Regions from separate parts of the Homo sapiens genome. Here regions 2, 3, 4 and 5 are each linked to region 1. Evidence: promoter capture Hi-C in 16 types of primary human blood cells and fetal thymus (Javierre and others, 2016). All regions are on one chromosome and are shown on one strand. The core of a region is centred on a gene start or on the middle of the fragment in contact, and the rest is flanking DNA. Distances in the headings are between cores, read along the strand shown. Region 1 holds the start of TUBAL3 (tubulin alpha like 3). Region 2 has its middle 24 kb from the start of AKR1C1. Region 3 has its middle 65 kb from the start of AKR1C1. Region 4 has its middle 43 kb from the start of AKR1C1. Region 5 overlaps LOC107984198 (a long non-coding RNA gene).

The links. The method cuts DNA at HindIII sites, captures the fragments that hold promoters and counts their contacts. A CHiCAGO score of 5 or more calls a contact.
Region 2: a contact is called between a fragment that was not itself captured here and the fragment with the promoter of TUBAL3 in region 1, in 2 of 17 cell types (M0 macrophages and M1 macrophages). The highest score is 5.4, in M0 macrophages.
Region 3: a contact is called between a fragment that was not itself captured here and the fragment with the promoter of TUBAL3 in region 1, in 7 of 17 cell types (M2 macrophages, total CD4 T cells, M1 macrophages and 4 more). The highest score is 8.6, in M2 macrophages.
Region 4: a fragment that was not itself captured here is called in contact with the fragment with the promoter of TUBAL3 in region 1 in 2 of 17 cell types (M2 macrophages and M1 macrophages); the score reaches 7.8 in M2 macrophages.
Region 5: a contact is called between a fragment that was not itself captured here and the fragment with the promoter of TUBAL3 in region 1, in 2 of 17 cell types (M0 macrophages and erythroblasts). The highest score is 6.6, in M0 macrophages.

The regions. Positions count from the first base shown.
Region 1 is chr10:5,401,949-5,407,167 of GRCh38, reverse strand. TUBAL3 (tubulin alpha like 3) reads left to right here and starts at 2,340. Exons shown (of 4, transcript NM_024803.3): 1 at 2,340-2,378. The coding sequence starts at 2,376. The HindIII fragment of the contact is 4,190 bases long and covers 1,717-5,219 here.
Region 2 is chr10:4,937,027-4,942,250 of GRCh38, reverse strand. No RefSeq gene overlaps it. Among named protein-coding and RNA genes, the nearest start is that of AKR1C1, 24 kb to the left of the region's middle. RefSeq lists a cis regulatory region at 222-793. The HindIII fragment of the contact is 1,507 bases long and covers 1,090-2,596 here.
Region 3 is chr10:4,896,017-4,901,432 of GRCh38, reverse strand. It overlaps the pseudogene AKR1C6P. Among named protein-coding and RNA genes, the nearest start is that of AKR1C1, 65 kb to the left of the region's middle. The HindIII fragment of the contact is 9,579 bases long and covers 1-5,416 here.
Region 4 is chr10:4,917,784-4,923,270 of GRCh38, reverse strand. No RefSeq gene overlaps it. Among named protein-coding and RNA genes, the nearest start is that of AKR1C1, 43 kb to the left of the region's middle. The HindIII fragment of the contact is 7,566 bases long and covers 1-5,407 here.
Region 5 is chr10:5,040,818-5,046,437 of GRCh38, reverse strand. The region is part of intron 3 of LOC107984198 (a long non-coding RNA gene); the gene reads right to left. Among named protein-coding and RNA genes, the nearest start is that of AKR1C2, 40 kb to the right of the region's middle. The HindIII fragment of the contact is 2,781 bases long and covers 2,583-5,363 here.

The DNA of each region.
Region 1 (5,219 bases), core at 1,091-3,590:
ATGTTCACCACACCTCCACAATGCCTGCACAGCAATACCCAGACTAGTGTTAGATTGGATAACTGGGTGCCACAGCCTAGCCAAGTTGACACAAAAACTATCACCCCAGAAGGCCTCTTCAGACGTGAAATTCCAATTATTATCACTTGAGGAAACTTTTTTCTTTAAGACTTAGTCTTTCAAAGAAATAAGGAATTACTAAAAGATAAGATGCATTTCTTAAATTATACTACAAAAGAGATTTTTCTAGTTTCTTTCTAATTCCTACGTAAATCTAAGTTAATCATAGCTCCATGTCAGACTGACAATTTTTAAAAGTTAATGAAAGATACTGAGTACATCAGTGGACTAGAAATGAGATACTCACATTATCTGATTTTTCCCTCATCTTGTTTCAAACTGAAAATATCTGGGACCAGTGGGAGAAAATTTGATACAGCAACAAAATAAATATCATTCTGATTTTATAAAATGGAACTGGCTTAATTTTTCTTTTCATTATATGGAACTACCAGGATGCTAAACATTTGGGGAGTTATTGACAGAGACAGATAGGATTGACTTTATGAAGATCAAAATGAGAGAAAGTATAATTTATAATAAGTTCAGGAGAAAATTGCTGAAGAACACTATGGTTTCTTCATTTTCTCAAAGTTGTAAGGAAGAATTGGTAGAAACCAAGATTCTTGAGTAACAGAAATTTTGTTTTGATTACTGAATAATAAAATTGTTACTATGCTAACAAAACATGTCATTAATTCAAAAGAAGATCAGGAAGAAAAGAGAACTTAGAAAATGGAGACAAACAGAAAGCACAAAATAAAATAGTACTCTATATCTAAACCCAACTATATTAGTTATTATATTAAATGTAATGAGCTGAATTCTCCAATTCAAATACAAAAATAGAAAAAAAATTCAGTTATATCATGCATACAAAGAACACATCCAAAATATGAGAATATGGAAAGGTTTTAAGTTTCTAAGAATGTAAAACGATGGGAAAATACATCATTCAAATGTGAACCAAAAAACTGTATTAAAGTAGTAATATTAATATTTGATCATAAAAACTTTAAGGTAGGCCAAGGCGGGCAGATCACGAGGTCAGGAGATCAAGACCAGCCTGGCCAACATGGTGAAACCCTGTCTCTATCAAAAATACAAAAAAATTAGCTAGGAATAGTGGCACACACCTGTAATCCCAGCTACTTGAGAGGCTGAGGCAGAAGAATCGCTTGAACCTGGGAGGTGGAGGTTGCAGTGAGTTGAGATCGCACCATTGCACTCCAACCTGGACGACAGAGCAAGACTGCATCTCAAAAAAAAAAAAAAAAAAACTTTAAGGTAAAAATAATTAATGTATATAAGGAGGGTAATTTAAAAATAAAAAATTGTTAAAGTTTTTGAAAATATAATAATTTAAAATTTATGTGCTCTTCATAACATGGCCTCAAAATGTATAAAGGAAAAATTGACAGAAAAAGAAATAATGGGTAAATTCACAATTATAATGAAAACTTTTAATACATCTTTTGAAATAATTGATACGTAAAATTTGGACTACACAATAAATCCATTTGATTTAATAGATTGATTGATTGAATGATCGGTCTATCTAAAATATTGCATCCAACAAATGTAGAATGCACATTCTTTTCAACACTCATGGAATATTTTCAAAAATTGACCATATAGTAGAATATAAAGGAAGCTTTAGCAAATATATAAGGAGAGAACTCAGTTAAGATGTGTGATCTGATCTTAGTGCAATTAATAAAAAATAATAACATAAGTATATATTATGTATAATAATATAAAAGTTCAAAAGACAATAATAATAAAAACAGAAAATTCCCATATGTTTGGATGTGGTAGTGGTTGAGAGGCATGCATAGGACACAGATGTAAAAAGGACACTGTCTTGGTTTGCTGTATGTATTCAGGGATTGTTTAAATTTATTTAAGAAGATATTCACATAGTACTCATGCAATAGAAAAAGCTACTTTGCTGTTGCAGAAAATTTTACTCATACTCCTTCCTTTTCTCTGCCAATGCTAAATAAATTCTTAACCCAAAAGGGTGATTTTTAAAAGACACATGTTCTTTTCAACATAGTTATAAGTTGGACGCAGATTTGGATAAGCTCTCAGTAGTTCATCTGCAGCTGTGTACAAACTTTATCCCGGGTTGTTCAGGCCCAACACAGCTACTCTGAGACCAGATAACTAAAAAAACTAAAAAGAAGCTATACTGCTTTAAGTGAAGAAAGCTCCAGCCCTCAGGTGGAGTCATTTCCGGGCCCTGTGATAAAGCTCAGCTGGGAGGCTCCTCAGTCATTACTACAGGGCAGGAAGGGCACGTTCTCATCAGCATGGTAAGTGACTACACGCCTATGCATTGTTGTAGGAAATTTTACTAATCATATTTGGCCCTTTTCCCACAGCAAACAATTCTTAATAAAATTGTAATGCAAGAGAAGACATTTGTAAAGAAACATTTGTTTCTTTCAATGTCCAAGTAGATGAGTTGGGAGCAGATGTGGACAGGCTGTAATCTATTCCTCTGTAATGTTGCTTCTTTCAAGGTAAAGCTCAGTTGATTTGCAGTAGCTCACTGCCATTAATTGAAGCACTGAAGCAAAAACCTTTCCTTCCTTTAGTTTTCACCTTTGTTTTAGGCCCAGAGTGCTGATTTTTCTGTAGATATTCATTGCTTCACTTTTCGTTAGGCTGTTAAGAGTTTCTGAGGACTTCAGACTTAGGTAACCGTGGCTAACCTCATAAATGCCTGGCAGGGTAAAGTGCGCAGACATCTTCTTTGCCCTCCCTTGAGTTTAGTTCTTTGGGCACCACAATGAATAGAATAACTTACAATAATTCTGTTTTGGGATGACCTTTTCAGATCCATTTGCCCTTTATTTTTTTCTGTGCCAGTTTTTCAGTATCTTTGAATTTTTAATTCTTCAATGGAAGCAACATTTCGAACTGCTTCTTGATCTTTGATTTCTCACCCCATTGGTCTCTCTGTCCAACATTTAAAAAATTTTAAATTGTTTTGCTTTTAAAAATTATGCCTTTCAACATGAGAGAGACTTGTGATAATAGCATGTTCTGTATCTTATCACTGTCAACATTCTGGGTGTGATTTTGTATTATGGTCTTGCAAGATGTTTCCACTGCGGGAAATGGGTAACGGATGCAAGGGATCTTCCTATGTTATTTCTCACAGCTGCATATCAATCTACAAAGACCTCAAAATTGAAAGTTTAACTGAGAGTTATGCTTTTCTAGTAATTCAAATAATCCTTATAGCAGCGTTTAATAATGTGCTATGACTTATCAGTGTTGACGTTCAGTGGACATTTTATAGTCTTCTACTTTATAGTGTGACTAATATTTTCATAGAGAATTTGGAAAAAAAGGGAGAGGCTAAGAGAAGAATAAGGCAAAGATAGTCTTCTACACCCTTGGACAGAGTTATGTTATAAGCTAAGCTCCTTCAAAGACGAAGGATGCTTGTTAGTCCAGGCTATTCGTGCTGATTTCAAAAAGAACAGCATCACTCTGCTTTCTGAGTCACTTGAACAGACCACGTGAAGAGGAACAATCTTTTTTTTTTTTAATGTTAGTGATTATTTTTACTGTGACTATTATGAACAAATACCACATGTACACCTGAATTTTACTCGTCACTGTAACACAGGACTGGGTGGTAGCCAGTGGAGAAGACAGAGAAATCTACATGTAAACTTTACAAAGTAAGAGGTTTTAATGATGTAGAAACAATGAACGTTCACCCTCTCCTTTTAAAATGTTAACTTAAATTTAAGGAGCCAAGTTTTGATCAGATTACAGCAGCTGATGTATTTGCAGCACTTTAAGTCCGACAGAAGGGGAGAGGAATAAGATTAAGGTTATCTGAAGCCTGATAAGGGGTATTCGAAGCCTGTTTATAACAGAATATGCTGTCTTGAGAGGTGGAATATTAGTTTGTCCTAAATGAAGTGCTTTCTAAATTAGAGAGACTGATAGTTGCACAGAAAATAAACAAGATGGAAGCCCTACTAAGGTAGTGAACTTGAATTGGTCATGAAGCAGAGGGCTGTTATGCCTTGTGAATCACAGAGACAAAGTACAAAGGTTTGATGCCATTGAGCATGAACAGAGTCCAAGTCAGATTGCAGGGGTGTGGCCGACCAGAGCCCTCTCCTTACTTTCCTCTGACTAGTGGTCTGTGTAGACCAGTGGTCCTCAACTTTTTGGCACCAGGAACCAGTTTTGTGGGACACAATTTTTCCATGGAGTCGGCAGTGGGGATGGTTTCTGGATGAAACTGTTCCACCTCAGATCGTCAGGCATTAGTTAGATTCTCATAAGGAGCACACAACCTAGATCCCTTGCATGCGCAGTTCACAATAGGGTTAGTGCCCCTATGAGAATCTAATGCTGCCGCTGATCCGACAGGAGGCAGAGCTCAGTCAGTAATGCTCACTCACCTGCTGCTCACCTCCTTCTGTAAAGCCCAGTTCCTAACAGGGCACAGACTGGTACTGGTCTGTGGCCCGGGGGTTGGGGACCCCTGTGTAGACCACAGGTGAGGGATTGACAGGAGGCCTGAGGTCTTTCAGTAGTTGAATCTCAGGCTTTAGGGCAGTGTAGCCATGAACAAGGGCAGGGCTCCCCTCAGCTTATCTGGTCAAACAGCCCAAAGGGTCCTGATGATGCAGAAGACATGGGGGTCTCATTCTACAAGACCCTCTAAATAGATTTGTTTCAGCACCACAGTCAATCAAACCACACCAATATTAAGAACAGCGATTGCTATCACCTCAGATTTCTTAGAATTTAGCTTTTACTTTCCTTCTCATTTTTTTTCTTTCCTTCTCTTAAAAACGTAGATCATTGTCTGTTTAACAGAATAGTTGTTTGCCTTAAAAAAAAGATGATTTAAAGTGGGATGGGGGAATATGAAGGTGGAAGAAATAGTAAAGTTTAGACAAGAAAATAAAATCACTACCCAGATATTACTAAACTTAATATCTTGATGCATTTTCTTTTAGATTTTTATGCCTATTTTTGAACATATTGGACATCATACTCTATATGCAATCATGCATCTTATGTGCTTTTTACTTAATATGTTATCATAAGCATTTCCCATGTCATAAATCTTTTTTTTTTGGGAAAACGTTTAAGGGTTGCATAACATGTCATTG
Region 2 (5,224 bases), core at 594-3,093, 460 kb after region 1:
TTCATTTTTATTGTCTGTGTGGGCAAAACATTTGATTTTACTGAACATGCTCCATAGTTACATGGCAGGATGTTTTGACTGGCATAAAAACTAACCAAACTTCTAAATGTGAAGTAGGTCACCGGAAGAGTACAGGACTCTTTGTGAGTTGTTTTTCTCTCCAGTCCAGTATTTTCCTAAACATGTTTCCTAAATAACATAGGGATTTCATTTGGAATAAGCAAGTCATTTAAATTTATTCATAGGTATAGGAGGGTCCAGAAATGTTAAAAGCACAAGTGGTTTCAACTGTATGCCTTTGCTTTATGCGATAGTAGAGTAAGTTGAAAATGTTTTCTACTGAAGCAAGTGACTGTTTCCCTATGATTAAATAAGAGCAGCTTCAGATGGCTGGTTTGCACTGAAGGGTGGAGCAGGCCCATTTGCTTTCACGTGTCAGAAAAGTCTGCTCTACCCCACCCCTCAATAAGGCACTCACATCCACCAGGCGTGATCCTCTAAAAGTGATTCCATAGTGTTATCTCCAACCTCCTTCTCTGGAAAATCTTGCTGACTCACAGTGACTAGGGGACTTCTATGGCATTCTAGACCTGCCAGTCACAAGCCTGGATCATTGTACCTGTTCTGAGTTGCACCGGTCTTTTACTTTAGTGCCAGGTGGTTGGAAAGTGGCCCATGAAATAGAGCTGCTCATTTTTAAATTATCCCTTTTGTTGAAGCTTTTGTTCAGGAGGCAGGAGTGGGGCCACCGGCTGTGGACCTCATGGTACACTCTTGTTTTTAAGACGTGTTATACAGGGCGAAGGAAAGCAAAATGTGCCACTCAAAATGTACTTTTTTGGCATATTTTATGTGGCTATTCAGAGGGGTCACAATTCAGAGAGGCTGCTGACACACAAATAGACCTGAAAAGCTTTCTTCTCTCGCAGAGATTTGTAAGTGCTGAGGAAATGTACATTAGTGAAGTGAACAGAGGGTAAAAGCCTTTCTCTGAGGACCCCTTTATATGCCTTATTGGATCAAGGAAAGATTAACTTCCAGGAAAAACAGACTAAGATCCTGACACTTTAAAGGTCTGACTGAGAAGCTTCTCCACAGGCCGCCACCTACCTTCTTGAGGTCAGCTTGGCGAGCCCCTGAGAGGCTCACATCTATGTGGGGACAGCCTTGGCTCACCATGTGTGCCTCTTCCACTCCCCCATTACCTGAGACTCCACCTCCCCCAGAGACCCCAAGCCCCTGTTCTCTCTGTAGCCTCAGGATGTGATGAAACCCTCTGTCATCAGGACCACCCTGGAGTCTCTTATTGGCAGGAATCTGATGTCCATGTACATATATACAAATTTGCTGTCTTTTTATATTAACCTTTCACTTGTCAGTTTGTTTTATACACTCTAATTATCAAAACTTCAGAAGAGAGAGGGAAGAAAATGCCCTTTTGTGCCTACATGGGTATCTGCATTTCCCATGCAAAGCAGAAAAGGTGAAGGAAAGTAATAAAACCCAGTCCCAGAAGTAGCAAACATGGCCCTGACAATGGCAATGAAGGAATAGTGCATGGCCTAAGATTGGTCTCCCCACGACTGAGGACCATCAGGGCCAAGTCTCTTGTCTTTCCTTCCTCCCTTCCCTTCACCCCCAACTGCACACAGCCGGACACAGGACACAGTTTGGTAAGAGCATCTGATTAGGGAGGGTAACTGGGAAACTGTACATGAGAATGTGCATGAGTGAGGGTGAATATGTTAAGAATTGAGGGGAGGAAAACCTATCCTTCTGCAAGTCTATTTACCTATCTACTACGTTTTTATATGTTAAGACTTCTGAGAGCCTGCTGTTGGGTGTGTAGTGCGATCCTCTGGAAGGAAGTTGAGGAAGACGCTGTCTGTGCCTCACTTTCTCCTTGGGCTTATGGCAGCTTTCCAGTGGAAACCTGACAGGACAAGCCTCTGTACAAGATCCCCGTGTTTGTGCTCATTGTACAGTAACTGATCAACACACAGAAATAGCGGCTGTTGAGCAGAGAAGGGATTTAATACTTGAAGGCAAACAAATGAGGAGATAGGAGGAAACTTCGAATTCACTGCCCTGAGGAGTTTTAGACAGGGGTTTCAAGGGAATTTTGGCAGGCAGGGGGCTGAGGAGCAGGGCGGGGTGCTGACTGGCCAGGGTGTGGACTATGAAAGCCTAAGGATGTGGTAACTGCATTGTGGGGCTGAGTCAGTTCCTCGGAGGGGGCTGTAGATTGGATGGCATCTGTAGAACTGTTATAATGCATGATGCAGAAAATATCTCGAGTGGAAAACGTGAGATTTCCTACTGTTTGAGATGTTATCTATGAGGTTAGGACCTTGTGATAGGGACTACATGATTCCAAAGTGTAAGAAGTTACATGGAAGTGGGCTACAGGGCAAGCTGGTTAATGTGTAACTATGCTTTCTTTCAGAGTTCGTGCTTTTGCTAAAAAACCTAGACATTTGCTTTCATTAATATGATGAAGATGTTGTCACCTCCTCCAGTGAACACACTCATTCTGAGGGACAGCTGGGTTGCAATGGCTATCAACTTGTCACAATGCTTGCATTGATGGAAAGCTTTCCTTCATCTGAATGAAAACATTCCTCCATAGTAAGCACTAGGTCATGAGAGTCTCTGGGAAACACTCAGGGTACACAAGAAATGTGTTTTGTTGTTAAAAACAAAATCCTTTACTTTGCTCAAGGGAAGGCTGCTGATCTCAGCACATATTTCAGCCTGGGCATCACCCAGCAGTTTCTCAGAACTTACATGAAGGGATCCAACTAAGCATAATTCTGAATATTGTTCACTAATCCTGACTCTGCTTCCTTCCCAGGTGTGGAATCAAAGACAGAAATGCTCCCTCTCCCCTTCTGCTGTGTCTTTCCCCTGAGGCTTTTCTGCACGCCATCACTGCCCAGCTTGGCATCTGTCCTGGGCATTGGTAATAATGTGGTACTCTTCACCCCCTTCTAGCGTTTGATCACTCATCAGGAGCCCTCATCTCCGCGGGGAAGAACACAGAACGTGAGCTCCTGACTTCTTGCTTCTTTCTGTCAGCTTTCATTCTGATATATCCAAGTTGCAAGAGAAAAATAGAGGCGACATGGCATTCACCCTAAACCTACTTTGCATGATGATGTCTGTTACACTTAGAAGAAACATACTTTATTGAAAGAGATGCGTAAGTCCTCCATTCTATCCATTCTCCAGATGACTCTGACTTAAATAGAGCGAGTTTCACTGTCTTGGTGAGTCTATCGCTCTTTGGACACCTCTTCTTCAGGGTCAGAATTCAAGAGAGGGTCCTGGAGGTCTGAATGTTTCTCAGAAGCCTCCAAGCCCTCAGCTGCCCACTTCAAAGCTCACAGCCTCAGCACCACAAGGCACCATGATGTCCCCAGGGTAATTTCCTTAGGCTCTCTCCCACTTTTATTTCAGTCATCAAAAGAGCCCAGGACTCCAGTTCTGAACTGAACTCTCATTCCCTAGAGCTCTTACCTCCAGTTTTCTGACTTTTTCTCACACTTTCCTTAATTCTAAAACCCTTCTGATGGTCCTTCTAGAACCTGTAACTTCCCATTAGAAAATTCAAAATTCTCACTTTATGTTAATATTATCAGCTTCTGTTCCCTCCCCTGTTTTTCTAACCCAAACTTCTAGTTTCCATGAGGATTCTGTTTCTCCTGCAGTGCTCCTAAGGGGAGGTGTGGGTCCTCTCCCACTGTCCTCCCAGGGAGCATGGAGGGAGGACAGACATCCTCCTTTCTCCTCACTGCCTCATCTACCCAGTCCCCCTCCTGCTCCCTAGAAACACCCATTTTTCAAACTACCTTTCCTTGTGGCAATCACCTGCCTTCTACCTCACTTGCTCTGATTCCTTAGAGATTTTTTCCTGTGTTTGAGTTACATTGTGCAGTCCTACTTCTGCCATCCTTCCTGGTGTTTTCAATACGCTCATAGATATTGCAACCCAAGCTCTAATCATTCATCTCCTTCCCACCATCTCTTAAACTTATGTCACTGAGGTTTTTTTTCTGCCCTCATTGTCCTGCTAAAAATGTTCTTATAAAGTCACCAATGACTACCACATTGCTAAAATAAGAGTTAATCTCAGTCCTTGACTTGTTTAATCTATCAGCAGTATCTAACAATCTATCACTATTGGTCCTTTATCATTCTTTTTTTTTTCTTTGGACACAGAGTTTCACTTCATCACCTGGGCTGGAGCTGGAGTGCAGTGGTGCGACCTCAGCTCCCTACAACCTCCACTTCCCAGGTTCAAATTGAGAGCTGACAGCGCACTGGCAGCCCTCGCAGCCCTCACTTGCTCTGGGTGCCTCCTCTGCCTGGGCTCCCACTTTGGCGGCACTTGAGGAGCCCTTCAGCCCACTGCTGCACTGTGGGAGCCCCTTTCTGGGCTGGCCAAGGCTGAAGCTGGCTCCCTCAGCTTGCAGGGAGGTGTGGAGGGAGAGGTGCAGGCGGGAACCGGGGCTGCGCACAGCGCTTGCAGGCCAGCATGAGTTCCGGGTAGGTGTGGGCTCCGTGGCTCACACTCGGAGCTGCCCCCCGGCCCGCAAGCCCCGGGCAGTGAGGGTCTTAGCACCTGGGCCAGCAGCTGCTGTGCTCCACTTCTCGCCGGGCCTTAGCTGCCTTCCTGCGGGGCAGGGCTCAGGACCTGCAGCCCGCCATGCCTGAGCCTCCCGTCCCCGCTGTGGGCTCCTGCGTGGCTGGAGCCTCCCGACGAGTGCTGTCCCCTGCTCCACGGTACCCAGTCCCATGGACCACCCAATGGCTAAGGAGTGCCAGCGCATGGGGCTGGACTGGCAGGCAGCTCCACCTGCGGCCCTGGTGCGGGATCCACTGAGCGAAGCCAGCTGGGCTCCTGAGTCTGGTGGGGACTTGGAGAACCTTTATGTCTAGCTAAGGGATTGTAAATACACCAATCGGCACTCTGTATCTAGCTCAAGGTTTGTAAACACACCAATCAGCACCCTGTGTCTAGCTCAGGGTTTGTGAATGCACCAATCGACACTCTGTATCTAGCTAATCTAGTGGGGATGTGGAGAACCTTTGTGTCTGGCTCAGGGATTGTAAACGCACCAATCAACGCCCTGTCAAAACAGACCACTCGGCTCTCTGTAAAATGGACCAATCAGCAGGATGTGGGTGGGGCCAGATAAGAGAATAAAAGCAGGCTGCCCAA
Region 3 (5,416 bases), core at 2,158-4,657, 510 kb after region 1:
CATATGCTGTTTTTTAGAGTGTGAGGTGTTATGTGCCACTAATACTTTCCACTAATACTTTCTACTATGTTGATAGTTACTTGATTAAGACAGTTGTCTAAAAAAAGGTAAAATCAATGGAAGGAATCAGCAGGCAAATCTAAGAGTTACTGGGCTTAAAGATGAGGTAGAGAAAGAAAGAGAGATAGAAAGTTTATTCAAAGGGATGGCAGAGAACTTCCCAAACCCAGAGAAAGATATCAATATTCAAATACAAGAAGGTTATAGAACACCAAGGAAATTTAACCCAAATAAGAGTACTTCAGGCCATTTAATAATCGAACTTTCAAAGATCAAAGATAAAGAAAGGATCCTAAAAGCAGCAAAAGAGAGAGAGAGAGAGAGAAAAAAAACACATACAATGGAGCTCCAATACATCTGGCAGCAGACTTTTCAATAGAAACCTTACAGGCCGGGAGAGAGTGGCATGACATATTTAAAGTGCTGAAGAAAAATATCTTTTACCCTAGAATAGCATATCCAGTGAAAATATCTTTCAAACATGAAGGAAAAATAAAGACTTTCCCAGATAAACAAAAGCTGAGGGATTTCATCAATGCCAGGCCTGTCCTACAAGAAATGCTAAAGGGAGCACTTCAATCAGAAAGAAAAGGACATTAATGAGAAATAAGAAATCATCTGAATGTACAGAACTCACTGGTAACAGCAAGTACACAGGAAAACAGAGAATATTATAAGACTGTAACCGTGGTGTCTAAACTACTCTAATCCTAAGCAGATAAACTAAATGATGAACCAATCAAAATAATAACAACGTTTCAAGACATAAACAGTACAATATGATATAAATAGAAACAACAAAAAGTTTAAAAGCTGGGGTACGAGTACGAACTTAAGGTGTAAAGTTTTTATTAGTTTTATTTTTGCCAGTTTGTTTGTTTATACAAACACTGTTGTTATCAGCCTAATAGAACCAGAATAACCCAAGCTATCCTAAGCAAAAAATACAAAACTGGAGGAATCACATTACCTGACCTCAAATATTTTTTAAATTATACTTTCAGGTTTGATATATAGGTATACATGTGCCAAGCTGGTTTGCTGTGCCCATCAACTCATCATTTACATTAGGTATTTCTCCTAATGCTATCCCCCCGCCAGCCCCCCACCCACTGACAGGCCCAGGTGTGTGATGCTCCCCACCCTGTGTCCAAGTGATCTCATTGTTCAATTCTCACCTATGAGTGAGAACATGCGGTGTTTGGTTTTCTGTACTTGTGATAGTTGGCTGAGAATGATGGTTTCCAGCTTCATCCATGTCCCTGCAAAGGATGTGAACTCATCATTTTTTATGGCTACATAGTATTCCATGGTGTATATGTGCCACATTTTCTTAATCCAGTCTATCATTGATGGACATTTGGGTTGGTTCCAAGTCTTTGCTATTGTGGATAGTGCTGCAATAAACATACATGTGCATGTGTCTTTATAGTAGCATGATTTATAATCCTTTGGGTATATACCCAGTAATGGGATGGCTGGGTCAAATGGAAATTCTAGTTCTAGATCCTTGAGGAATCACCACACTGTCTTCCACAATGGTTGAACTAATTTACACTCCCACCAACAGTGTAAAAGCATTCCTATTTCTCCACATCCTCTCCAGCATCTGTTGTTGCCTGACTTTTTAATGATTGCCATTCTAACTGGTGTGAGATGGTATCTCATTGTGGTCTTGATTTGCATTTCTCTAATGACCAGTAATGATGAGCATTTTTTCATGTGTCTGTTGGCTGCATAGATGTCTTCTTTTGAGAACTGTCCATTCATATCCTTTGTCCACTTTTTGACAGGTTTTTTAATTTCTTGTAAATTTGTTTGAGTTCTTTGTAGATTCTGGATATTAGCCCTTTGTCAGATGGGTAGATTGCAAAAATTTTCTCCCATTCTGTAGGTTGCCTGTTCACTCTGATGGTAGTTTCTTTTGCTGTGCAGAAGCTCTTTAGTTTAATTAGATCCCATTTGTCTAGTTTGGCTTTTGTTGCCATTGCTTGTGTTGTTTTGGTCATGAAGTCCTCGCCCATGCCTATGTCCTGAATGGTATTGCCTAGGTTTTCTTCTAGGGTTTTTATGCTTTTAGGTCTAACATTTAAGTCTTTAATCCATCTTGAATTAATTTTTGTATAAGGTATAAGGAAAGGATCCAGTTTCAGCTTTCTACATATGGATAGCCAGGTTTCCCAGCACCATTTATTAAATAGGGAATCCTTTCCCCACTTCTTGTTTTTGTCAGGTTTCTCAAAGATCAGATGATTGTAGATGTGTGGTGTTATTTCTGAGGCCTCTGTTCTGTTCCATTGGTCTATATATCTGTTTTGGTACCAGTACCATGCTGTTTTGGTTACTGTAGCCTTGTACCTGACCTCAAATTTTACTACAGAGCTATAGTAATCAAAACAGCAGGGTATTGTCATAAAAACAGACACATATATCAATGGAACAGAACAGAGAACCCAGAAACAAATCTACACACCTACAGTGCACTCATTTTTAACAAGGTGCCAAGAACATACACTAGGGAAAAGACAATCTCTTCGATAAATAGTGCTGGGAAAACTGGATATCTATATGCAGAAGAATGAAACTAGACCCCTATCTCTTGCCATATGCAAAAAAATCAAATCAAAATGGGTTAAAAGTTTAAATCTAAGATCTCAAACTACGAAACTACTACAAGAAAACATTGGAGAAATCTTCAGGACATTGGTCTGGGCAAAAATTTCTTGACTAATACCCTATAAGCATAGGCAACCAAAGCAAAAACGGACAAACGGAATCATAAGTTACAAAGCTCTGCACAGAAAAGGAAACAATTAACAAAGTGAAGCGAAAACCCCCACAGAATGGGAGACAATATTTGCAAACTCTTCATCTGACAAGGTATTAATAACCAAAATACATCGGGAGCTCAAACAACTCTATAGGAAAAAAATGTAATAATCCAATTTAAAAAATGGTCAAAAGATTTGAATAGATTTTTTTTAATCTGTCATTATTTCCAGCTTTATCTTATAAAGTTTGTTTATTTTTCTTAGTTTTTTTTTATTATATTTTAAGTTTTAGGGTACATGTGCACAACCTGCAGGTTAGTTACATATGTATACATGTGTCATGTTGGTGTGCTGCACCCATTTACTCGTCATTTAACATTAGGTATATCTCCTAATGCTATCCCTCCCCTCTTCCCCCACCCCACAACAGGCCCCGGTGTGTGATGTTCCCTTTCCTGTGTCCATGTGTTCTCATTGTTCAATTCCCACCTATGAGTGAGAACATGCGGTGTTTGGTTTTTTGTCCTTGTGATAGTTTGCTGAGAATGATGGTTTCCAGCTTCACCCATGTCCCTACTAAGGACATGAACTCATCATTTTTTATGGCTGCATAGTATTCCATGGTGTATACGTGCCACATTTTCTTAATCCAGTCTATCATTGTTGGACATTTGGGTTGGTTCCAAGTCTTTGCTATTCTGAATAGTGCCGCAATAAACATACGTGCGCATGTGTCTTTACAGCAGCATGTTTTATAATCCTTTGGGTATTTACCCAGTAATGGGATTGCTGGGTCAAATGGTATTTCTAGTTCAAGATCCCTGAGGAATCGCCACACTGTCTTCCACAATGGTTGAACTAGTTTACAGTCCCACCAACAGTGTAAAAGTGTTCCTATTTCTCCACATCCTCTCCAGCACCTGTTTTTTCCTGACTTTTTAATGATCGCCATTTTAACTGGTGTGAGATGGTATCTCATTGTGGTTTTGATTTGCATTTCTCTGATGGCCAGTGATGATGAGCATTTTTTCATGTGTCTTTTGGCTGCATAAATGTCTTCTTTTGAGAAGTGTCTGTTCATATCCTTCGCCCACTTTTTGATGGAGTTGTTCGTTTTTTTCTTGTAAATTTGTTGGAGTTCATTGTAGATTCTGGATATTAACCCTTTGTCAGATGAGCAGATTGCAAAAATTTTCTCCCATTCTGTAGGTTGCCTGTTCAATCTGATAGTAGTTTTTTTTTTGCTGTGCAGAAGCTCTTTAGTTTAATTAGATCCCATTTGTCAATTTTGGCTTTTGTTGCCATTGTTTTTGGTGTTTTAGACATGAAGTCCTTGCCCATGCCTATGTCCTGAATGGTATTGCCTAGGTTTTCTTCTAGGGTTTTTATGGTTTCAGGTCTAATATTTAAGTCTTTAATCCATCTTGAATTAATTTTTGTATAAGGTGTAAGGAAGGGATCCAGTTTCAGCTTTCTACATATGGCTAGCCAGTTTTCCCAGCACCATTTATTAAATAGGGAATCCTTTCTCCATTTCTTGTTTTTGTCAGGTTTGTCAAAGATCAGATAGTTGTAGATATGCAGCATTATTTCTGAGGGCTCTGTTCTGTTCCATTGGTCTATATCGCTGTTTTGGTACCAGTACCATGCTGTTTTGGTTACTGTAGCCTTGTAGTATAGTTTGAAGTCAGGTAGCATGATGCCAATATCCCTGATGAACATCAATGCAAAAATCCTCAATAAAATATGAATCCAGCAGCACATCAAAAAACTTATTCACCATGATCAAGTGGGCTTCATCCCTGGGATGCAAGGTTGGTTCAACATGTGCAAATCAACAAACATAATCCAGCATATAAACAGAACCAATGACAAAAACCACATGATTATCTCAATAGATACAGAAAAGACCTCTGACAAAATTCAACAATGCTTCATGCTAAAAACTCTCCATAAATTAGGTATTGATGGGATGTATCTCAAAATAATAAGAGCTATCTATGACAAACCCACAGCCATTATCATACTGAATGGGCAAAAAACTGGAAGCATTCCCTTTGAAAACTGGCACAAGACAGGGATGCCCTCTCTCACCACTCCTATTCAACATAGTGTTGGAAGTTCTGGCCAGGGCAATCAGGCAGGAGAAGGAAATAAAGGGTATTCAATTAGGAAAAGAGGAAGTCAAATTGTCCCTGTTTGCAGATGACATGATTGTACATCTAGAAAACCCCATCGTCTCAGCCCCAAATCTCCTTAAGCTGACAGGCAACTTCAGCAAAGTCTCAGGATACAAAATCAATGTACAAAAATCACAAGCATTCTTATACAACAATAACAGACAAACAGAGAACCAAATCATGAGTGAACTCCCATTCACAATTGCTTCAAAGAGAATAAAATACCTGGGAATCCAACTTACAAGGGACGTGAAGGACTTCTTCAAGGAGAACTACAAACCACTGCTCAATGAAATAAAAGAGGATACAAACAAATGGAAGAACATTCCATGCTCATGGGTAGGAAGAATCAATATCGTGAAAATGGCCATACTGCCTAAGGTATAGATGCAATGCCATCCCCAT
Region 4 (5,487 bases), core at 375-2,874, 480 kb after region 1:
CAGAAAGAGTTCCTACTTCCATTGAGAATTTGAAATAGAATATCTCTTTGCTCTGTAGGCAGATGTACAGGAATATGTTTGAACATTTGACTTTGTGTGTGTTTTGTTTGTTTGTTTTGAGACAGAGTTTCGCTCTTGTTGCCCAGGCTGGGGTGCAATGGCATTGTCTCAGCTAACTGCAACCTCCTCCTCCTGCGTTCAAATGCTTCTCCTGCCTCGGCCTCCCAAATAGCTGCGATTACAGGTGTCTGCCACCATACCCGGCTAATTTTTGTATCTTTTAGTAGATACGAGGTTTCACCATGTTGGTCAGGCTGGTCTCAAACTCCTGACCTCAGGTGATACAACCACCTACCTCAGCCTCCCAAAGTGCTGGGATTACAGGCGTGAGCCACTGGGCCCGGTGGAATTTGTGTTTTATGTATTAAGTTCCAGGCAGGGGAGTAGAATTGAATAATTTATTACTTTGATAATACAGATACTGTAAAGTCATGTTCATAAAAGTAAAAAATGCAGACACTCCAGCAATCAGAAAATGAACTTCTTAACATCCACACTAATGGCAGCTTCCTAGAAATCACTGTGCTACCCCCCCAATAATGGAATCATTGCAGTTCTTATCATGCATTATCCTTTCTTCTTCAGTCTTGCTGGCCACCCTGATTATCCATTTTCAGGTGAATATTAACATGGAGGACTTTGTATGAGTTCTATCAGAGGCCCTGTGTGTGGATGGTGACACAGAGGACGTCTTTATGCTGGTGATTGGACACATCGCCTTTGGCTAAATCTACCCTGCTTAGCGACTTCAGTCAGCCAAATATAAGTTCACAGGCCAGAAGGGAAAGACAATATTTTTTTTTTCTCTTTGAAAAAATTGAGTGCTCTCTTCCAAAGATTCTTTACCTACTTTGGTCTCCATTACTTGTATGTTTTCTTTCTTTCTGACTCATTAGCTCAAAAATGGTGATTTGCTTATAAGTTAGGATCAGGGGGTGGGAGATGATGACAACCATTTTATAGACATTTTTAGGTGGGCATGGGTGATTTCCAGCTTCTAAAGAAGGAGCTGGTGACAGGTATATATCAGTGCATCTTTAGCTATTTGAGGAACAAGAACACACACAGCATCGAGTCTGGAGGGTGAGGGCTATTGAAAGGATGACCAGGAATCCATGGGCTTCCTCCAGCAGTGCAGGGATCAGATTCCTAGGCTCCCTCCCAGAGCCTAGGAATGAGGCATCCCTCCCAGAGCCTAGGAATGAGGCATCCCTCCCAGAGCCTAGGAATGAGGCATCCCTGTGGGAGGGGTGTTCAGTGAGGAGGGAGGGCACCCACCCAGGAGAAATGATTAGAAGTCAGATATTGAAGAGGTTTAGAAGGAGAGGGTTGAGTACATGTATGCTTGGAAAAATACATTGGCACCATTTTTTGGATAATTATATGTTGTGCATAAAAGGAAATTCTCTCCACAATGCTTTAAGAAATCCTAGAGCTGAGAGTCAGGCCTGGACCTCTGATGTGTGGCCAGTTACAGCACTGACCGTACTGGGCTGTGGTGGGAAAGGACATTGAAGACACCATTGACTGATCAGATTCCCCTAAATACCAACCCCATCTTTAGAGAATGTTCTTAGATTCCAAAAATATACTATTAATTTATGATACTTGATCTTTTTACATGTTTCATACATAAAATAAGTGATGGTTTTGGGGTCAGGATTGTAATCTCATCAACATGTGTTTTACTGCAAAAGGTCTGTTTAGGTCACTCATGTTAATTTCCTTGCTTTTGGCATGTGGTTACGGTGGGAAGAGAGCTGTAAGGCATGCTTACAAGTATAAAAGACAAAATGTTCTAAAGCCATTACATATTACTCTCAAATTAAGATCAAAATGGTAAATAATACATCTAATAAAGCAAATTCTCCAAAATCCCAAAAATCTTTTGGAAACAGTGTCTGCAAAATTGCACAATGTTTTCAAACTTTAGTAAATGTCAGGAACAACTCTTACAAATATATGTAATTCTTTTACATAGTTTTTAGGGGTACGAAGTAAATCAGTTAATCATGGGGACATAAATTTTCATTTCAGGCAGCTCTTTTGAAAACTTGGGATATCCTGGTGAGAGCGTTTTGAGGACAGTGGTTTTTGACCTGGGCACACTAACACTTTCACTCTCAATTGTTCTTAGTCTGGTGGCCACCTTAACCCCATCAAAGAGGCTTTCTCAAGCCAGGTCTCCCAGCAAGTTTTGCAGCCCACAATCTTTCCTTAAACTATTTATTCCTTAAAATTGAGGGAGGTCATAAACTTTGGAGCGCCCTAGGCCAATTTCTTGGACTGTTTTCTGTCTATTTTCATTCCCTTGATGATCTCTGGCTTTAAATACCACCTTTAGGTTGAGAAACACCCCAAAAATATTTCTAGCTGAGCTTTTTCCTCCAAACTCCAGGACAGAACATAACAATGTGTGCTCTACATCTCCTATTAGTGTCTAAGGGACATTCACCCTTAGCATGTCTCAAACAAACCATGTAAACAACTGCCTCCTGTTCCACCTCAACTTTCTTATTTTAACTAATAATTATTTCACATCTCATAAGGTTGATTGATGTAACTACCAAGAAAAGAATGACATTTTCTTAAAACTTACAGGTCAAGTGTGTAGTTCTTAGGAAATATTTTAAATTTCAGATTTCTTTAGCATGCATAACATGTTTTTCCAGATGTGAAATAATCATTAGGACAGTCATTTGTAAATACTAAATCTGCTACAGGCTTATTCCAGTTCTTTACCCTCTGTTTCCACAAAATTCTTAGTTAAAAACAAACAAACAAAAACTTACTCAGAATTTCTTAAAGCTCAACACTTGGTTTTAGGAACACTTGGGATGTAAGAAAATTGTATAGGGACCTCCAATCCCTGATTTCATTATTTTTTCTCTACAAGAAATGCTGAAGGGAATTATTCAGGTTGAATAAAAGGAAATAGTAACTTACAGCCATTTAGACCTATAAAGACATCTAGTCAATGTGAATAGGTGGCAAAATATGAAAACATGTATTTTTGAAATTTTGGAATTGTACTCTATTTTTCTTCAAGATTTAAAATATAAACGTATAGAAATAAGTATAATTCTAAGTTAATATGTACACAATGCAGAAAGCTGTAATTAGTGACAAAACAATGTGAAGTAGAGTAAAAACCTGGGGAAAGGGAGAGTTTTTATATAAAATTAAAGTTAAATTGGTATTGATTCAAAATAAATTGTTATAATTTTATAAAATCATATGTCATCCCCATAGCAATCACAGAGAATAACTGTAGAATATACTCAATAGGAAATGAGAAGGGAATCCAAATGTCATTTATAAAAAAGTCACACAACCTTACAAGATGATAGTAATGGTGAATATGAAGGATAAAAAGCTATAGAGAGTGGTAAAACATTGAAAATGGCACAAGTAGCTGGGACTGGTGGCTCACACCTGTTATCCCAGCACTTTGGGAGGCTGAGGCAGGCAGATCACTTGAGGCCAGGAGTTTAAGACCAACATGGTGAAACCCCATCTCTACTAAAAACACAAAATTAAGCAAGGTGTGGTGGTGCAAGCCTGTAACCCCAACTATGCAGAAGCCCCAGAGGCAGAGGTTGCAGCGAGCCAAGATTGCGCCACTGCAATCCAGCCTGGAAAACAGAGGTAGTCTCTGTCTCAGGAAAAAAAATAATAATAAAGAAAAAGAAAATGGCACAAGTAACTCTTTCCCTGTCATTAATGACAGTCATGTGTCGTGTAATGCCTGGGCTATCTTCTGAGAAAGGCTCTGTGAGGCAGCTCCATCAATGTGGGGACATGAAAGCATGAAGAGAAAATTCTCTCGATGTCATTGCCTCGCCAACTACGTTTATGTCATATTCTAAATCCTTTGCTGTCATTTCAGGAATGTTTACAGCATCTTCAACAGAAGTGGAATCTATTTCACCAAACCACATTGTTTGCTCATCCATAAAAGTAGCTTCTCATTTGGTAAAATTATATTATGAGATTGCAACCATTCAGTAATATTCAAGCTCCAATTTTAACTATAGTTCTCTTACTATTTCCACTACATCTGCAGTTATTTTCTCCACTGAAGTCTTGAATTCCTCAAAGTCACCCATGAGGGTACTAGTACAAAAGCAGGCCCATGGACCAAGGGAACAGTAGAGAAGTCCCAGAAATAATGCTGCACACCTGCAATCATTCAACGAGTGATGCTGTGATGACTAGCTAGCCATGTACGGAAGATTGAAACTGGAAAGCCTTCCTTACACTGTATTAAAAAATCAACTCAAAATATATTAAAACCTTAAGTTTTAAGCCTAAAACTATGAAAAACCCTTAAAGATAACCTAGGAAATACCATTCTGAAATAGACCCTGGTAAAGATTTCATGATGAAGGCACGCAAAGCAATTGCAACAAAAACAGAAAGACAAGTGGGACGTAATAAACTAAACAGCTTCTACACAGCAAAAGACACTAGCCACAGAATAAACAGACAACCTAAAGAATGGAAGAAAATGCCTACACGCTATGCATCTGATGAAGGTCTAATATCCAGAATCAACAAGAAACGGTTTAAGTTGTCTTCATCCTTATCCTTATCCTTACTCTTAATGGCAGTTAGTTAGATGTATTTCTTTAAAGGGGGAATGATAGATGCAGGAAGCAGATGAGGGAGGGCCCCAGAGAATCTCCAACCCACCCCACAAGTGTTTACATCAGATGCTTTTATATAAATGAGGGAACCTGCCCAGGGTCCTGTCTGCACATGCCCACAACGTACTGGGGACATGCCTACCTGCTGGGAGACTGGAGTGGAGCCATGGAAGTTCATGCCATGTGCAAGGGGGAGGGGCCTGGCCTCTTCAGCTCCTGTGTGGTGGCCTGGTACTCAATCTGTGAGATGGTAGCCTGTTAGCAGGGCCCCCCTCTCACTTTTTTTCTCTTTTTTCCTTTTTGTCCCAAAAATTCTGCTCTGTTCACCCTTCAATGAGTCCACGTGCCTAGTTTTTCCTGGTCACAACACAACAACCTGGATTTAGCTGAACTAAGGGGCAAAAATTCAGCATCAGTGTATGACATTGCAACAGATGAATGCAGAAGCAGAAATGAAATTCTGGCTGTCCTCTATGACACTACTCAGGAGATTTTCAAAAACATAAAAACACATCATTTTTCTCTCTGAATGATTTTTGTCTGGTGAAATATTGTATTTTGTTATAAAATATATTATTTATGCTAATATGTGATAGGTTTATTTTTAAATAAATTGATGCATAAATATTTTAAATTTTTTTAGTTTAAATTTCTAATTTGGTGCATATCAATGGATGTAGGACATATAAACTCAAGCTTTGGAGGTCCTCAATGATTTTTAAGAGTGTAAAGTGTTCCTAAGACTAAACATTTTGAGAAAAAAGAGTTTCAAATTTAT
Region 5 (5,620 bases), core at 2,724-5,223, 360 kb after region 1:
AACTCTTTGAGGTCGTCATTCTCATTTGCCCTTGGTTTCCAACTGAGGGAACTCTAGAACTTAAAGATTGGGATGAGGTGGGCCAACAGTTTAAAATCGCTCATAGAGGGGAACATGTTATCCCGCCGGCCATTTGCACAGTTTGGTCCTCGGTTCGCTCCATCTTAGAATCCTTGCAGCCATAGGAGGAGGGAATGGAGGGTACTCTACCTTTGCTCTCCTCCGAAGAGGTTGAGGAAATCCTCAGTACTCTCTCTCCAGAGGGCACTGCACAACCTGAAGCCATCATTTTAGAAATGGACCTCCATTCTGATATTCCTTTGGCATCACCAAATACACCACAGCCTACCATGCCTACCGCACCCCCAGTATCACTTTATGAGGACCTTATGAAGGATCTCCTTCCCCCAGATCTAAAAAATCCCTCTGAAATGTACTATCAGCAGCCCTTGTGGCCGGAACCTCCTGTACTGTCTCAGCCCTGCTGTAGGGCTCTCAACCATCCATCTGTTCAGCCCGGTTATGAGGCTGTCAACTCTATCCCTGTTCGGCCCAGTAATGAGGCCCTCAATGCTATCTCTTCACCCAATTCTGCCTTTCCTCTTATGCATCAGGCTCCACAGAAGCCTAACCTGCAGTCCATGCACCAGCCTGGAGTTCAGGCCCTGCAGTCCGTGCACCAGCCTGGAGCTCAGGCCCTGCAGTCAATGCAACAGCCTGGAGTTCAGGCCCCTGAAAGACCTGCAAAGCAGGCAACTGTGCATCAGCCTGGCTTGAAGTCTCTCAACTTCTATATTCAAAACCCCAATTTCTTTTCTGCTTCTGGTCCAGTCACAACTGCTGTTGCTACCCATAAGCAATAGGTTACATACATTCCTGATAATGACACCCCTCTTATGAGGGCCATTTCTCAGGCAAGGGAATACGGGGATCCCGAGGCATGGCCGTTTCCTGTTATTCTACAATCTCCTATACCTGCTGCCCCCATTCTAGCTGCCCCTGCTCTGGCTGCAATGGATCAGCCACCACCTGCTGACCAAGTTCAGCAGGCAGCTGACGCCACTGCCTCTCCAGACCCGCAGCTCAGGGATCAGGCTCCTCAGCCAGTGCAACAAGGGCCTGATGTCCCAGCAGAGCCAGTTCCTGGCATACATTCCATTCGGGCTGTGGTGCAACCTGATCCTTTACACCCTGGTCAGGTCCACCTATGACCTGCTACTTGGGAAAGTTTTTCTTTCAAATTCCTTAAAGATTTCAAAGAGTCGGTTAAACAATATGGTACCAATTCCCCTTTCGTCCGTTCCGCCCGAAAATCCTTAGCAGAAGATAAATGCTTGGTGCCTTGTGACTGGGAAATTCTAGCAAAATCTGTCTTATCTAAATCACAATATTTACAATTTAGGACATGGTGGGTTGATGCTGTCCAGGATTGAGTCCGCCTTAATCAGGGCTCTAATCCTCCTGTTAACGTTACAACTGACCAGTTACTGGGAATGGGGCAGTGGGCTGCAATTAGAAAGCAAACTATATTGAATGATGAAGTCACTGAGCAACTCCGAAAATGCTGCCTGGGTGCTTGGGATAAGATTCAGGATGATGGCACTAGATGTCCCTCCTTTACAGCCATTAGACAAATGCAAAATGAACCATACCCCTGACTTCATTGCCCATCTTCAGGACGTGGCAGAAAAATCTATTCCTGATCTAAATAACCAACATTTGGTTGTGGAACTCATGGCTTATGAACAAGCAAATCCAGATTATCAGGCTGCTATTCACTCTGTAAAAGGTAAAATCCCACCAGGAAGTGATTTAATCACATCCTATATTAAAGCATGTGAGGGTGTTGGTGGAACGTTACATACTGCTATGGTCACGGCTCAGGCTATGGCCAGCATTAGAATGCTTGGACAATTTCCTGGTAATTATTTTCACTGCAGCCAATCTGGACATACCAGGAAAAAATGTCCTCGGTGTTCAGACCACCACCCTGTACAACACCAATCCCCAAAGGCCGTACAACTGCGAGTCCCACCATCCACACCATGCCCAAGATGCCATAAGGGCAATCACTGGACAGCTCACTGCCACTCGAAATTCGACACTAATGGCAACCCTTTACAGCCACTTCAAAACCAGGGAAATGGTAAGAGGGGCCAGCCCCAGGCCCCTCCAGACAATGAAGCATTCCCCAACTCCCAGCCTTGGCCTTGCAGCCAGATGAGGGCATCCCCAGCTCAACCAATCGATCCAACCACTCAGTTTCCACTTCAACCATTCATGCCACAAGCATAGATGTCACAACCCCAACAAGGATCTCATTTCAATGCTTGTCCCCCGCCACCACAGGATCTGCAGCAGTAGATCTCTGCTGTATTAGAGACATTTCCCTTTTGCCTGGAGAGCCACCAATAGCTGTTCCCACAGGTGCTTTTGGGCCCTTGCCACCTGGCTCTGTTGGTTTATTGCTCAGTCACTCAAGCTTAAATTTAAAAGGTGTTCAGGTACATAATGGTGTAATTGACTCTGATTACTCTGGGGAAATACACATTACTGTTAGTTCTGCAGTTCCTTGCCAAGCTTCAGCAGGAGATTGAATTGCTCAACTTCTTCTTCTGCTGTACATTCCACTCAGATCCAGTTCTCATAAAAGAACTGGAGGTTTTAGGAGTGCAGATAATCAGGGTAAAGTGGCTTACTGGGCTAATAAAATTTCTGACACCTGACCTGTTTGTTCCACGCATATACACAGAAAGAAATTCATGGGCATGATTGACCTGGGTGCTGATGTTTCCATTATTGCTTTACACCAATGGCCTCGTCACTGGCCCAAAGAAGTCACATTCACCGGGTTGGTGGGAGTTGGTCAGGCCACTGAGGTTTATGAAAGTTCCACTATTTTACATTGTACTGGCCCAGAGGGACAGACTGGTACTGTTCACCCTCTACACCTATTCCAGTTAATCTCTGGGGAAGAGATCTTTTACAGCAATGGGGTGCACAAATTTCATTTCCACATGCTGCCAACAGTGAGCAAAGTAAAAACATTATGACAAAAATGAGATATGTTCAAGACACTGGTCTGGGAAAATTGGCTCAAGGTATTACTGCGCCTATTCAACCTTTCTATAAATTTGACTCCAAAGGGCTTGGTTATTCTTTTTAGAAGCAGTCACTGTCAAGCCTCCAGATGCCATCCCTTTGACTTGAAAACTCAGCCAGTTTGGGTGGATCAGTGGCCGCTCCCAAAAAATAAGCTGGAGGCGCTCCATAATTTAGTCCTGGAACAGTTAGAATTGGGACACATTGAGGAATCTTTCTCTCCATGGAATTCACTTGTCTTTGTTATCCAAAAGAAATCTGGAAAACAGAGAATGCTCACTCATCTTAGGGCAGTTAATGCTGTACTTCAACCTCTGGGGACATTACAATCTGGCTTACCCTCCCGCTCTATGCTCGCTGAGTATTGGCCTCTAATCCTCATAGATCTTAAAGATTGCTTTTTTAACATTCCACTGGCCTCTCAGGACTTTGAAAAGTTTGCTTTTATGGTCCCTTCCCTCAACAATGTCGCTCAGGCTACATGCTACTATTGGAAAGTCCTACCACAAGGCATGCTTAATAGTCCCACTATTTGTCAGTATTTTGTGGGGCGTGTGCTTCAACCTGTCAGGGATCAGTTTCCCCGATGTTACATCGTTTACTACATGGATGATCTCCTCTGCACAGCCCCCCCATACACCATTTTGATTTCCTGCTTTTCTGTGATTCAACAGGCCATTTCAGAAGCAGGTTTGACTATTGCACCAGAAAAAATTCAAACTACCTCTCATTTTCAATATTTGGGCATGCAGTTGGAAGACAAGCTGATTACACCACAAAAAGTTCAGCTTAGGAGAGACGCCTTAAAAACTTTAAATGACTTTCAAAAGTTACTTGGGGATATTAATTGGATTTGCCCTTCTTTGGGCATCCCTACATATGCTATGTCAAACCTTTTTGCCACATTATGTGGGGATCCAGATTTACACAGGAAAAGGTTTCTTACAGAAACCTCAGACTCAGAGAGGCTGAGTCTGAGTTATGATTGATTGAACAAACAGTTCAATGGTCTCAGGTCACTAGATTCAATCCCAAATTACCTTTTACTATTTTAATTTTTCCCACTGAACACTCTCCAACAGGGATCATCACTCAGGAACATGATATAATTGAATGGTGTTTTCTTCCCCATAGCTCTCTAAGGACACTTACTATTTACCTTGACTAAATTTCTACCCTCATTAGGCAAGCCTGTTCCCATCTTTTATGACTTTTGGGACAGGAATCTCAAAAAATTATTCTTCCCTTAAACCGTCAACAACTCTGACAAGCATTTACAAATTGTGTTATTTGGCAGGTAAATTTGGCCCATTTCCCTGGTATAATTGACAATCATTACCCTAATGTAAAATTGTTCCAGTTCCTGAAACTCACTTCCTGGATTTTACCTAATATTACCAGAAGTATTCCATTAACTGGAGCCGTTACTATATTTACTGATGCTTCCTCTAATGGCCGTGCTGTATACACAGGACCATGGGAACGCGTTCTTAACACAGGACCTATTTCTGTACAGCGAGCTGAACTTAGCACTGTTATGACTGTCCTTGAGGATTTTCCTGAGTCTGTCAACATTGTTTCTGATTCTGCATACCTCGTGCATGTTGCCCACAACATAGAAACGGTGTTAAATTTTTGCCTGAGGAAAGTTTACTTTCACTTTTTCAAAAGTCTTAGACAGTTCTCAGAGCACACTGTGCCCCCTTTTACATTACTCATATTTGAGCCCATACATCACTTCCAGGACCTCTTTCAGCTGTAAATGCCAGAGCTGATGCTTTAGCCACATCCATTTTTATGGACATGCGAAATTGTCGTGCCCTAACTCATGTCAATGCTGCAGGACTCAGAAGCAAGTTCCCTCCCACATGGAAACAGGCAAAAACCATAGTACGGCACTGTCCCTCTGGCCAAGAGTTAATTTTACAACCACTTCCTTCGGCAGTTAATCCTACAACCACTTCCTTCCAGAGTTAATCCTACACCACTTCCTTCCGGAGTTAATCCTACAACCAATTCCTTCCGGAGTTAATCCTACAACCACTTCCTTCCAGAGTTAATCCTAGAGGCTTTTCCCCCAACACACTCTGGCAAATGGACGTGACCCACTTTCCAGCTTTTGGGAGACTTTCTTTCATACATGTAACACTTGACACCTTTTCCCATTTCATCTGGGTTACATGCCAAACAGGAGAAAGTACTGCTCGTGTTAAATGACATATGCCTTCTTGTTTCTCAGTTATGGGCTGCCCTGCTAAGCTTAAAACTGATAACGGTCCCAGCTATACCAGCATTGCCTTTAAAAAGTTCACTCAAGCATGGGGCATTACTCACACTACTGGAATTCCCTATAATTCTCAAGGACAGCCTCTGGTGGAATGAGCTAATAAACCTCTCAAGGACCAGCTTCGCAAACAAGGTAACAAAAAGAAAGGGGATGTCAGTACTCCCCATGCTCAGATAAATTTAGCTCTGTTCACATTAAAATTTTTAAATTTGGCCAAGAACCAACCTTTCA